4 separate regions of the Homo sapiens genome follow, and all the other regions are linked to region 1. Evidence: promoter capture Hi-C in 16 types of primary human blood cells and fetal thymus (Javierre and others, 2016). All regions are on one chromosome and are shown on one strand. The core of a region is centred on a gene start or on the middle of the fragment in contact, and the rest is flanking DNA. Distances in the headings are between cores, read along the strand shown.

Evidence for each region. The method cuts DNA at HindIII sites, captures the fragments that hold promoters and counts their contacts. A CHiCAGO score of 5 or more calls a contact.
Region 2: a contact is called between a fragment that was not itself captured here and the fragment with the promoter of CCDC86 in region 1, in 1 of 17 cell types (naive CD8 T cells). The highest score is 5.6, in naive CD8 T cells.
Region 3: a contact is called between a fragment that was not itself captured here and the fragment with the promoter of CCDC86 in region 1, in 1 of 17 cell types (naive CD8 T cells). The highest score is 5.9, in naive CD8 T cells.
Region 4: a contact is called between a fragment that was not itself captured here and the fragment with the promoter of CCDC86 in region 1, in 1 of 17 cell types (naive CD4 T cells). The highest score is 5.4, in naive CD4 T cells.

The regions. Positions count from the first base shown.
Region 1 is chr11:60,840,460-60,843,482 of GRCh38, forward strand. It overlaps CCDC86 (coiled-coil domain containing 86), which reads left to right and starts at 1,654. Exons shown (of 4, transcript NM_024098.4): 1 at 1,654-2,423. The coding sequence starts at 1,666. It overlaps CCDC86-AS1 (CCDC86 antisense RNA 1), which reads right to left. Exons shown (of 2, transcript NR_182293.1): 2 at 1,347-1,521. RefSeq lists enhancers at 744-1,943, 1,850-2,079. The HindIII fragment of the contact is 9,112 bases long and covers 1-3,023 here.
Region 2 is chr11:61,045,376-61,048,169 of GRCh38, forward strand. All of the region lies in intron 1 of LOC105369325 (a long non-coding RNA gene), which reads right to left. Among named protein-coding and RNA genes, the nearest start is that of LINC02954, 8.6 kb to the right of the region's middle. The HindIII fragment of the contact is 3,449 bases long and covers 1-2,794 here.
Region 3 is chr11:61,062,793-61,065,634 of GRCh38, forward strand. The region is part of intron 3 of LINC02954 (long intergenic non-protein coding RNA 2954); the gene reads left to right. All of the region lies in intron 1 of LOC105369325 (a long non-coding RNA gene), which reads right to left. Among named protein-coding and RNA genes, the nearest start is that of LINC02954, 8.8 kb to the left of the region's middle. The HindIII fragment of the contact is 1,937 bases long and covers 609-2,545 here.
Region 4 is chr11:61,085,307-61,088,239 of GRCh38, forward strand. All of the region lies in intron 1 of LOC105369325 (a long non-coding RNA gene), which reads right to left. Among named protein-coding and RNA genes, the nearest start is that of CD5, 16 kb to the right of the region's middle. The HindIII fragment of the contact is 5,909 bases long and covers 1-2,933 here.

The DNA.
Region 1 (3,023 bases), core at 404-2,903:
CCTCTAAAACACATCTCCCTCTCTCTGGTGAAAACCTGAGATCACCCTCTGAAGTATTTCAGGCTAGACTAGGATATGATCCAATCGGCACTGGAGAGTGATCCCTCCAGCTGGGGACAAGAGCTTAGGAGGCAGGGCAAGCCAAGGGGGACTGGAGCAGGGCAGAGGGGCATACAGTCTCCTCCAGCACTCTGGCAACACCTGCCGGGCTTGGTTCTGAGTGTCAGATCATTGGGGTCTCCAGGCAGGGGCAGGGCATTTAAGGAACTGAATGGAACTCACTCCTCTGACAGTTGGGGGGTGGAAGAGCTGGGCAAGGAGGTGTCCCGGCTGCTTCTGCTGTGGACAGCTGCATGGCCGGAGAGGAGCAGTGAGGCAGGCAAAGCCCCCCTGCAGGGGTCTCCTTGACTCAGGAACATGAGGAAGATGAGGACACTCTGATCCCTGATATTCTTGGACAATTTCCCAGGCCCTCTCACAAGCCCGCAGCTGGAGAAACAATGGTTTCTAAAAGAAACCACTGGAATGTCAGACGGGGCCCTGGGACCTTTAATGGCCAACCCCAGGCAGTTCCAAGAATTACACAACTGGGCCACTTCCAAGATGTTCTTCCTAAGAAGCATGCTGTAAGTAAATCAAAGCCCCACTCCTAGGTCTCACACGAAAGTCTCCACAGCCCCACATTCCCCAACCCCACATCCCGAGAGTCTTCTCTAGGCCTTGGGAGGTCCAGAAGTCAACACCTGCTCACTGGTGAGGTCCCAAAGTGCTTAGTAAGCAAAGTACATTTACAGGTGAATAGCAAGGGAAGGGAGGGGAGGCGAAGCAGGTTCACACACGAGCAAAAACCACTGTCTGGGCTGAAAGGAAGATCGGAGATGATCCAACCCGTTTCTAGAACTGGGGTAGAAGAAGAGGGACGTGGGAGGATATGCAGCTGGTCGAGGGCCCAGGTGAGCCACAGGACAAAGGTGGTGCATCTTATTGGTACCTCAACTTCCCTCACAAACGTTGAAAACGCTGAAAAGGGAGGGAGAGCTATGGATTATATACGGAAGCACAGGACGGAAGAATCAAGAGTGTGAACAATTAACACAGAAAAGACCGATCTTCCACCTCCAGGACCCCCAGGTAGCAGTCCCTCAGGTAGGTGGGAGGAGGACTCTGACAGGATCATTTGGGATGCACGAAGCTAGTGCAAAATGACCCCTATTACAAATGAGAAAACAGGCCCAAGGAGGGCAGGACTCTGCCCAACTGCACCGGAGTTGGCTGCAAAACATCCACTGGGCCTTGCCTATGGGCTCCTCGGACCTTTTTTCGACTCTGTTCTCTCCCTGAAATGGGTCCTCCCACTTTCCCTTTTCTACTTGCTCGCTCTTCTTTCCCCAGGAAACTTTGCAAGAAAGGCAAAAGCGAATCCCAGGAAAAAGACTGGCTCATCAATCACATGTTGACTGCGCTCGCGCGAATTGCGCATGCGCATGCTGAGCCCCACTCTCCCCAACCCCGGTCCCGCCTCTCCACCCCTCACCAACATGGCCGCCTCAGCAACAGCCCCCCTCCTGTGCGTCACGGACGCGGCGACTCCTGACGTCATAGGAAGGCGCCGGTTTCGGCGGGGGCTGCACGTGCGCAGGGGTGTGGAAACTTACCGGCTGAGCCATGGATACACCGTTAAGGCGCAGCCGACGGCTGGGAGGCCTAAGGCCCGAATCCCCCGAGAGCCTCACCTCAGTTTCGCGGACGAGACGGGCCCTTGTGGAGTTCGAGTCGAACCCAGAAGAAACGAGGGAGCCCGGGTCTCCTCCGAGTGTGCAGCGGGCTGGCCTGGGGTCCCCCGAAAGGCCGCCGAAGACAAGCCCAGGATCACCCCGTCTGCAGCAGGGTGCAGGCTTGGAGTCACCCCAAGGGCAGCCAGAGCCAGGCGCAGCGTCCCCCCAGCGTCAGCAAGACCTACACCTGGAGTCGCCTCAAAGACAGCCAGAGTACAGTCCTGAATCCCCACGATGTCAGCCGAAGCCAAGTGAGGAGGCACCAAAGTGTTCTCAGGACCAGGGAGTACTGGCCTCGGAGTTGGCCCAGAATAAGGAGGAGCTGACCCCGGGGGCCCCCCAGCATCAGCTACCGCCGGTCCCAGGATCACCAGAGCCTTACCCCGGTCAGCAAGCTCCCGGTCCGGAGCCCTCTCAGCCACTACTGGAGCTGACACCCAGGGCACCTGGCTCCCCCCGGGGTCAGCATGAGCCGAGCAAGCCACCTCCAGCTGGGGAGACGGTGACAGGCGGCTTCGGGGCAAAGAAGCGAAAAGGTTCTTCATCCCAGGCCCCAGCGTCCAAGAAGTTGAATAAAGAGGAGCTTCCTGTAATCCCGAAGGGGAAGCCCAAATCGGGGCGAGTGTGGAAGGACCGCTCCAAGAAAAGGTGAAGTGGGGGACAGCATGGACAGGGGTGGCGTTCTCTATGGTGTTGGGACCCCGCCTTTGCCCTGCTGCAGCCTGGAGAATAGCCCCAGGGTTAGAGAGAGCTCACGTTAGTGGGGATGTTAGCAAACAGGTAATTACAATCAGAATGTGGTAAAATGCCCTGGGATCCCGGAGAGGGTGGGGCCAGGCCCTCAAAGATCAATTTCTCTGATGCCTTTCCTCCTCAGGGTCCCTATGGGCCTCTCCTGTAGCACCTCAGGTCTGTATTCGTTCAACAGACATTTACCGTTGTCTGCCCTCTCTAGTGAGAGAAGCAGAAGCAAGTAAACCAGCCATTACTTGATCAAAGCAGTGAGGTCTTCATCCAATATAGTCTATTACAGTTATTTGCCTTTAAGATAAAAAGTATTACTGAGCACTGATTATATAAGGATTTACCAGTCAACAGCCTTAATAAGGATTTACCAGTCAACAGCCTTTCAAACATGGAACAGCATGTGTCATCACGCTTAATCTGCACGTCAGCCCTGTGAAGCAGGCGGTGTTATTATTCCTGTTTTTTGTGTGAGGAAACCAAGGCTAAATGAGTGGTAGGCAC
Region 2 (2,794 bases), core at 193-2,692, 200 kb after region 1:
GATGCCAAGGTCAGGAAGCCAATATGATATGATGCCCACAGCACCCCAGAGCTCTGCACCAGCCTCCAGGTTGCCAGGCGTGCTCAAAGATGATTCATTAATTAGTAAGTATTTTTAAAAGACAGTCATCACGTCCATGAGATCGGGGTCAAATAGGCACTCCCTTGTGCTTCAGGTTGGAATGTAAATTGAGAGACAGCTTTTAAAAGCAACTGGAAAATGCGTACCGAGGGCTTTAACAATGCCTGCGCTTTTGACCAGGAGACCCACATTTAGAAACTGCCAAGAAAACAGTGTAGACAAACATATACGCACAAAGATGTCCTCTACTATATAAGGAAAAACTAGAATGAGATGTCTAACATCTAGGAAACCCATCTGGTAAATGCCGGTATCTAGATCTAAGAGAATTTCATGCAGTTTTCAGAAGGGATTCTTCTTACAAAATCCCAGCAAGATGTACAGCAAACAAGCCTAGGAGGGCTGCCCACGATGCTCTGAATGGTAGATTTGGATGGGATTCTTTTTTCTCTTTCTAGTTTTTAAAATAGTTTTCCAAGTTTTGTGCCATAAACATGTATTTCCTTGATAATTTTTTTGAAACCTATTTTAAATGAGCAATTAACATGTTTAAAAATTAATATAGGCCAGGTGCGGTGGCTCACGCCTGTAATCCCAGCACTTTGGGAGGCCGAGGCAGGCGGATCATGAGGTCAGGAGATCAAGACCATCCTGGCTAAAACGGTGAAACCCCGTCTCTACTAAAAATACAAAAAAAAAATTGCCCGGGCGTGGTGGTGGGCGCCTGTAGTCCCAGCTACTCGGGAGCCTGAGGCGGGAGAATGGTGTGAACCTGGGAGGCGGAGCTTGCAGTGAGCCGAGATGGCACCACTGCACTCCAGCCTGGGCGACTGAGTGAGACTCCGTCTCAAAAAAAAAAAACATTAATGTAACTTTTTATTATAACAAATCCACACTCATAGAAAGGAAACAAGAAAAAAAAAGGCTAAACACTGCACAAAATCTCTAAAGAAGGTAAAAATAATCTGGAATCCTACCACCTGGAGATAACCACCTCTATACATACACATACCTATATGTAGACACACATACAGAGACACATGCATGTTATTTGCAAATTGCTTCTTTTCCTCATCAATATGTCATGGACATCCTTCCACAGCAATAAAAGTCCATCAACCTCATTCTTTCTTAATGGTCCATGTGAAAATATTTCCACCCATACATCTTGTCTTATGGACGTACCATTATTTATTTAACCAATGCTCTATTGATGCACCTTGAAGTTGTTTGCAATATTTCACTTAATCATTAACATACCAATAAATGATATGGACTGCGGGAGTCAGCCTCTGCTGTAGTGTTAATATTCTACTGTGAATTCACTATTCAGGTCAGGGCATCAGTTTCGTCCCTTGTAAGACAAGGACATGGCGATTCCTGAGGTGCCTCCAGCTGTAGTATTCTCTGATTTCCTGCAGTGGCAGCTGGTTTCTCAAGAATATGAAGTGCTCAATGTAATTTAGAGCAATCTGCACAGCTAAGAATAGGGATCCTCTCTAAAATGATACTGTGGAAGCCCTCAAATTACCACCAGACTTCAACAGTACATATTTCCCGATCTGCAGGGTGACTGGAAGGTGGCTTCTGATGCCAACTTGGGCTACAATCATGCTGGAATGCAGCTCTGTCTTCAGTCAGGCCAGTAGCATTCAAAGAAGCACAACTGTGCAGCCATCTGCCTTTCTCCCAGTGGTCGAGTTCTCTTTTTCTACAGACTGCTCTCAGAGTTCTGCCCATTTTCTTTACCTGCACTTTTCCTTGAACCTCAAACATACATACATATTAGGATGCCTTGAGCTCGGTGTTTGCTCTGCAGCAAATCTCTCAATAATCCACCTGCTATCAGCATCACACCCCTGACAAATGCTCCTAATGGGCCTCTTCCCAGAAAAGAGCTTTTGATGTTGCATAGCAAGCATGAGAGTGAGATTCAACCAGGCAGACTGGCTTTATCCAACCACAGTAACAACAAACCTTAACTGGGCACCTACTATGTGCCAGGCACACTTCACTTTTGCACATCACTTCATTTCTGAAGACTGGCCAGTTTCTGAAGGCAGTTAGGAAAAACCCTTGTTGAGAATTCCAGCTTTAAAAAGTGCCTCTGACTCTAGAAACCAGGTTTAGAAAAGCCAGTCCTCTGATGCATAAATCCCCGCTACAACAGTAATCGCACCTAGCAGCTTGTATCATTCACAAGCATTCACTTGCTTTGGCCCTGAAGAGCTGCTTTTACTGACTTGTGCTTTGGGGCAGACCTTCAGGAATTGAGGGATTTTGTGGGAAACAGCATGATGAAACTTGCTGTTTGTTGCTCATAAAGATGACGAGAATGTCTTTTGAGACAGTAGAGAGGGTCCTCAAGCCTCTGGGTTTGCCTCTTTGCCTTGGCCACCAGGAAGCTCAGAATCAAACCAGTGTCCCACCACCTACAACATGAACAGACCTTTTGATATGATGCATCATGTGGATAACTTTCTCATCAATTCATCTTTTCACCCGTGCTTTCCTATCACACAGAGTTCTCTGGGTTATTTTTCATCCTGCTCCGTTTTGTGTACTGTTGCCTCATACTTATGGTGAATGGGAAGGGAAATAAATGTTACAAGTCAGAGACAGGACAAAAGACTGGCCCCCTAGCTCCCAGCCCTTTCCCCCACCTTTGATGATTGGGCCACCTGAAGAGGGGTGTCACTTTGATGGGCTGATC
Region 3 (2,842 bases), core at 327-2,826, 220 kb after region 1:
ACTGAAGCGTTTCCAGTAAGAGGAGGGCAGTGGTGATGCAGCCAGACTCCTACTGCGTGGAGATGAGTCCAGCAGCTCCCTGGAAGAGGGACTGCATGGAGCATAAGACTGCAGCAGGGAAGAGGAGGAGAGGATAAAGTACTGTTCATGCAGGATCAGAACCGGGGCAAGTGTGAAGAGGTCCCTCTACTGAACTTCTACGGAGGTTGATTTTACCGGAAATCTTTTCTCTATTTTCTCCCTGGGGCTCAGGATATAAGCTATACTTAGCAAGCAGTACTTTTTCATATGGAAGACTAAGATTCGCAGAGACCCTGCCAAGGCAACTTACATAGAGCCAAAGGAGAAAAATTAGGCAGATGCTCTCGGGGGAGTTAATTTTAAGGCATTACAGCATTTAATACACAGATTCCACTTCAGTGTTAAACCAAACCAGTCGCAGAGGCTTAAAAAACAGTGGCCAGGTCAACCACTTCACTTTACTCCCAGCCCCCAAAACCTCTCCTGCCCACCATGTTTTCAACTTGAAGCCACACTGAACCATGGAGCACTGTTAGGAAGGCTGGAGGTGGGCAGAGGGGACAGCCCGAGATCATGGTGCCACGAGAAGCTTCCCTCCAGTTGGGGAGATGGGGCCAAGCCCCATGGACCACGAGTGAGAAAGACACATCATGTTTCTATTTCACGTGTGCCATTCACGTGCTTAGTTCTGGGACGCTGCAGAGAAGCAGCAGTTACAGACCTGCTGATGGTGTGGTCAGGAAAGAAGCAGGAAAAGGGTGGGGCACGGTGGTGGCTCACGCCTGTAATCCCAGCACTTTGGGAGGCCGAGGCAGGCGGGTCACCTGAGGTCAGGAGTTCAAGACCACCTGGCCAACATGGTGAAACCCTGTCTCTACAAAAATAAAAAATTAGCTAGGCATGATGGCGGGCGCCTGTAGTCCCAGCTACTCGGGAGGCTGAGTCAAGAGAATTGCTTGAATCCGGGAGGCGAAGGTTGCAGTGAGCCGAGATCACGCCACTGCACTCTAGCCTGGGCAACTGATCGAGACTCTGTCTCAAAAAAAAAAAAAAAAAAGCAGGAAAGTAATTTGACAACTAGGAGATCTATGACAACACTTCACTCAGCTGTGGAAAGGTCTTGGGTGTTAGGGTCACATTTGACAATTCTGCCTGTTTGCTGTGTGGCACTGATGCCTGGCTGAGCTTCTCTGTGTCTGTCTCCTCATCTTTTAAATGAGAGCGCTTTGTACACTGGGAAGTGACCTGTGGATGTGAGAGGCCCTGTTGCTATGTGTCCTCTTCATCATTGCTTGCCTATTTTACTATATTTTTTTTTTTGAGACGGAGTCTCGTTCTATTGCCCAAGCTAGAGTACAGTGGCGTGATCTCTGCTCACTGCAACATTCGCCTCCCAGGTTCAAGTGATTCTCCAGCCTCAGCCTCCTGAGTAGCTGGGACTATAGGCACGTGCCACCACATCCAGCCAATTTTTGTAGTTTTAGTAGAGACAGGGTTTTACCATGTTGGCTAGGCTGGCCTCAAACTCCTGACTTCAGGTGATCTGCCTGCCTCGGCCTCCCAAAGTGCTGGGATTACAGGTGTGAGCCACCGCGCCTGGCCACTTGCCTGTTTTTCAATCCAGGGCTGGTCCCCCGGCTGGAAGTCTGCAGAGAGGGTCGAGCCCTCCATCTTTCCTTCTCTCCCTTCCCAAAGTTTCCCAGCTCTGCTGCTATCCCAGGACCCTTTCTTAGGCTATAAAATCCACACGAAGGTGCTATTCAAAAAGATTCCCGCATTTCCTACTTTGAAAGGGCACCCTAAGGAGTGACTAACAGTGATATTTCAGGAGGCACTGGGTGGTCGTGTCTTGAGCGCTCAGATTCTACCCCATGAGCATCTACATTCAATCAAGCCAGAGACCAAGATAAAAGCTAAAAAACCCAACCAAGTTTCCAGGTTTTCATAGTGGTTGGCTCCATGTAGACTGGAATTAGCAAACAGGTTTCAATCCATGTACCAGATCTGATGGTATGAAACACTGATTATGGCCGGACACTGTGGCTCATACCTGTAATCCCAGTACTTTGGGAGGCCAAGGCAGGAGAACTGCTTGAGCCGAGGAGTTTGAGACCAACCTGGGCAACATAGCGAGACCCCGTCTCTACAAAAAAAAATAATAATAATAATAATTAGCTGGACATGGTGGTGTGTGCCTGGGGTGCCAACTACTCGGGAGGATGAGGTGGGAAGATCACTTGAGCCTGGAAGGTTCAGACTGCAGTGAGCTATTATTGTGCCACTGCACTCCAGCCAGAGCAACAGAGTGAGACCTTGTCTCGAAAAAAAAAAAAAAAAAAAGAAAGCAAGAAAGAAAAGAAAAAGAAACACCGATTATGCAGAGAATCAGTCTGAGCCGCGTCTGAACTCAGCAGACACGCATACTATGATGGAGTAGAGATGCTGTCGGGAGCACACAGAGCAGTCATATGCGTGTTGCATATTTGTTACTGTGTAGACAAAACACCTAGGCCAGGGTTGTCCAAGCTTTTGGCTTCCGTGGGCCACACTGGGAGAATTATCTTGGGCCACGCATGAAATACACTGACACGGCAGGGCGCGGTGGCTCATGCTTGTAATCCCAGCACTTTGGGAGGCCAAAGCGGGCGGATCACCTGAGGTCAGGAGTTCAACACCAGCCTAGCCAACATGCAGCCTGGCCGTCTCAACTGAAAATACAAAAAGTAGCTGGGCATGATGGCTGGCGTCTGTAATCCCAGCTACTCGGGAGGCTGAGGCCGGAGAATCCCTTGAACCCAGGAGGCAGAGGTTGCAGTGAGCT
Region 4 (2,933 bases), core at 419-2,918, 240 kb after region 1:
ATGTCCAAAACACCAAAAGCAATGGCAACAAAAGACAAAATTGACAAATGGGATCTAATTAAACTAAAGAGCTTCTGCACAGCAAAAGAAACTACCATCAGAGTGAACAGGCAACCTACAACATGGGAGAAAATTTTTGCAACCTACTCATCTGACAAAGGGCTAATATCCAGAATCTACAATGAACTCAAACAAATTTACAAGAAAAAAACAAACAACCCCATCAAAAAGTGGGCGAAGGACATGAACAGACACTTCTCAAAAGAAGACATTTATGCAGCCAAAAAACACATGAAGAAATGCTCATCATCACTGGCCATCAGAGAAATGCAAATCAAAACCACTATGAGATATCATCTCACACCAGTTAGAATGGCAATCATTAAAAAGTCAGGAAACAACAGGTGCTGGAGAGGATGCGGAGAAATAGGAACACTTTTACACTGTTGGTGGGACTGTAAACTAGTTCAACCATTGTGGAAGTCAGTGTGGCGATTCCTCAGGGATCTAGAACTAGAAATACCATTTGACCCAGCCATCCCATTACTGGGTATATACCCAAATGAGTATAAATCATGCTGCTATAAAGACACATGCACACGTATGTTTATTGCGGCACTATTCACAATAGCAAAGACTTGGAACCAACCCAAATGTCCAACAATGATAGACTGGATTAAGAAAATGTGGCACATATACACCATGGAATACTATGCAGCCATAAAAAATGATGAGTTCATATCCTTTGTAGGGACATGGATGAAATTGGAAACCATCATTCTCAGTAAACTATCGCAAGAACAAAAAACCAAACACCGCATATTCTCACTCATAGGTGGGAATTGAACAATGAGATCACATGGACACAGGAAGGGGAATATCACACTCTGGGGACTGTGGTGGGGTCGGGGGAGGGGGGAGGGATAGCATTGGGAGATATACCTAATGCTAGATGACACATTAGTGGGTGCAGCGCACCAGCATGGCACATGTATACATATGTAACTAACCTGCACAATGTGCACATGTACCCTAAAACTTAGAGTATAATAAAAAAAAAAAAAAAAAAAGAATAAAATCTAAATTTCTTAAAAAAAAAAAAAATAAAAAAAATAAAAAATAAAAATTAGCCAGACGTGGTGGTGCACACCTGTAATCCCAGCTGCTCGGGAGGCTGATGCAGGAGACTCATTTGAACCTGGGAGGCAGAAGCTGCAGTGAGCCAAGATGGCACCACTGCACTCCAGCCTGGGTGACAGACTCTTGTCTCAAAATAATAAATAAATAAAATAAAGTTCAAAGAAAAGGCAAAGCCAATCTATGATGACAGAAGTCAGGACAGTGGATACTTGGGTAGGGAGCAGTGCGGGGCAGTGGGGAGCCTCCCAGGTGCTGGTTACACCAGCACGTGCAGTGTGTGAAGTTACATTTATAACACACTGCATGTACTGTGCTGTGTGTATCCCATATATAAGTAAAAAGTTGTTGTTGTTTTAAATTAAGCATCTGGGTTCCAGCCCAGCTTTACCACCTGGATGGTGTATAATCTCAGGCTAATTAAACTCTCTGAGTATCTACTCACTCTTCTGCAAAATAGAATAAAAATGATATCTGCCCCAAATGCTTCCAAATGTCAATGATTCAAAATTTCCATTCACGTTTACCTTATCCAAGTACCAAATATTATTTTTACTTAATATTTTTCCTTTAAATCAACTCACTAGTTAATCTAAAAATGAAATGTATAAACCATGAATCTGGTGAGCTAGTTATCTATTTTCAGTATATAAATTAATATAAAGTAAAACAAACACATTATTAAGATAAAAATGTTCATCTGTGAGCCACCTCAAGTCATCCTCCACATCAGTGAAGGTGGTATGTATATATTAACTCTGTCACCCAGGTTGGAGTGCAGTGGCATGATCACAGCTCACTGCAGCCTCAACCTCCTGGGCTCAAGCAATCCTCCCATCTCTGCCTCCCAAGTGGCTGGGACTACAGGCACACACCACCATGCCTGGATAATTTTTTTTTAATTTTTTTATAGAGACAGGGTTTCACCGTGTTGCCCAGGCTGGTCTTTAACTCCTGGGCTCAAGTGATTCTCCTGCCTCGGCCTCCCAAAGTGCTGGGATTACAGGCACGAGCCACTACGCCCGGCCAAGGTGTCATACTCACTCTGGGGAAAAAAACTAAGATAATGTAATTACATAGAGTCCCTAGCACTGTGTAAGCCCTTAGTAAATGGTAGCTATTATCACCACCATCATCATCATCATCGACTTCATCAACATTACTGACATCATCATCACCATCATCTTCATCATTTCATCATCACCATCAGCATCATTACTGCCATTATCATCATTCTCATCATTGACATGATCATCACTATCATCATCACCACATATAACACCAATAAGTATTTGTTTCCAGATCATCCCACAGGGTCAACCCAACATGGCCCTGGCCTCAGAAGAGCTTACAGAATTAGGAACATATAACCCATGCTGAAGTGTTGGGGCTTGCTGGGACACATATCGAGGTGAGCGCTCCACATCGGTGTGGATGGGGTAGAAGTTGTTGAGCTATGCCCTCCCACCCTCCACACCAGACCAGAACCGACTCTCTCCAGATTGCCTTGGGGACCTGCCTCTTGCCACAGGCCAAGGCTGACTGCACCTGGACCCATCCCCTCATCTCTCAGAACTTCAGTCTCCTCATCTCTGAAACAAGGCTGGTGACCTCAGCTCCTCCAAACCTCCCAGCAATGGGCAAAGGGAAGGACCCGCCATCAAAGACAAACAGAAGTCACTCGAGGAATGTCCTGGACATTCAGTAAATGATCACAAACATGTCTCACTTTTATATCAAATTTGTCCCCCAAGGTGGAGTCCTGGACACTCACTAATGATCACAAACATGTCTTA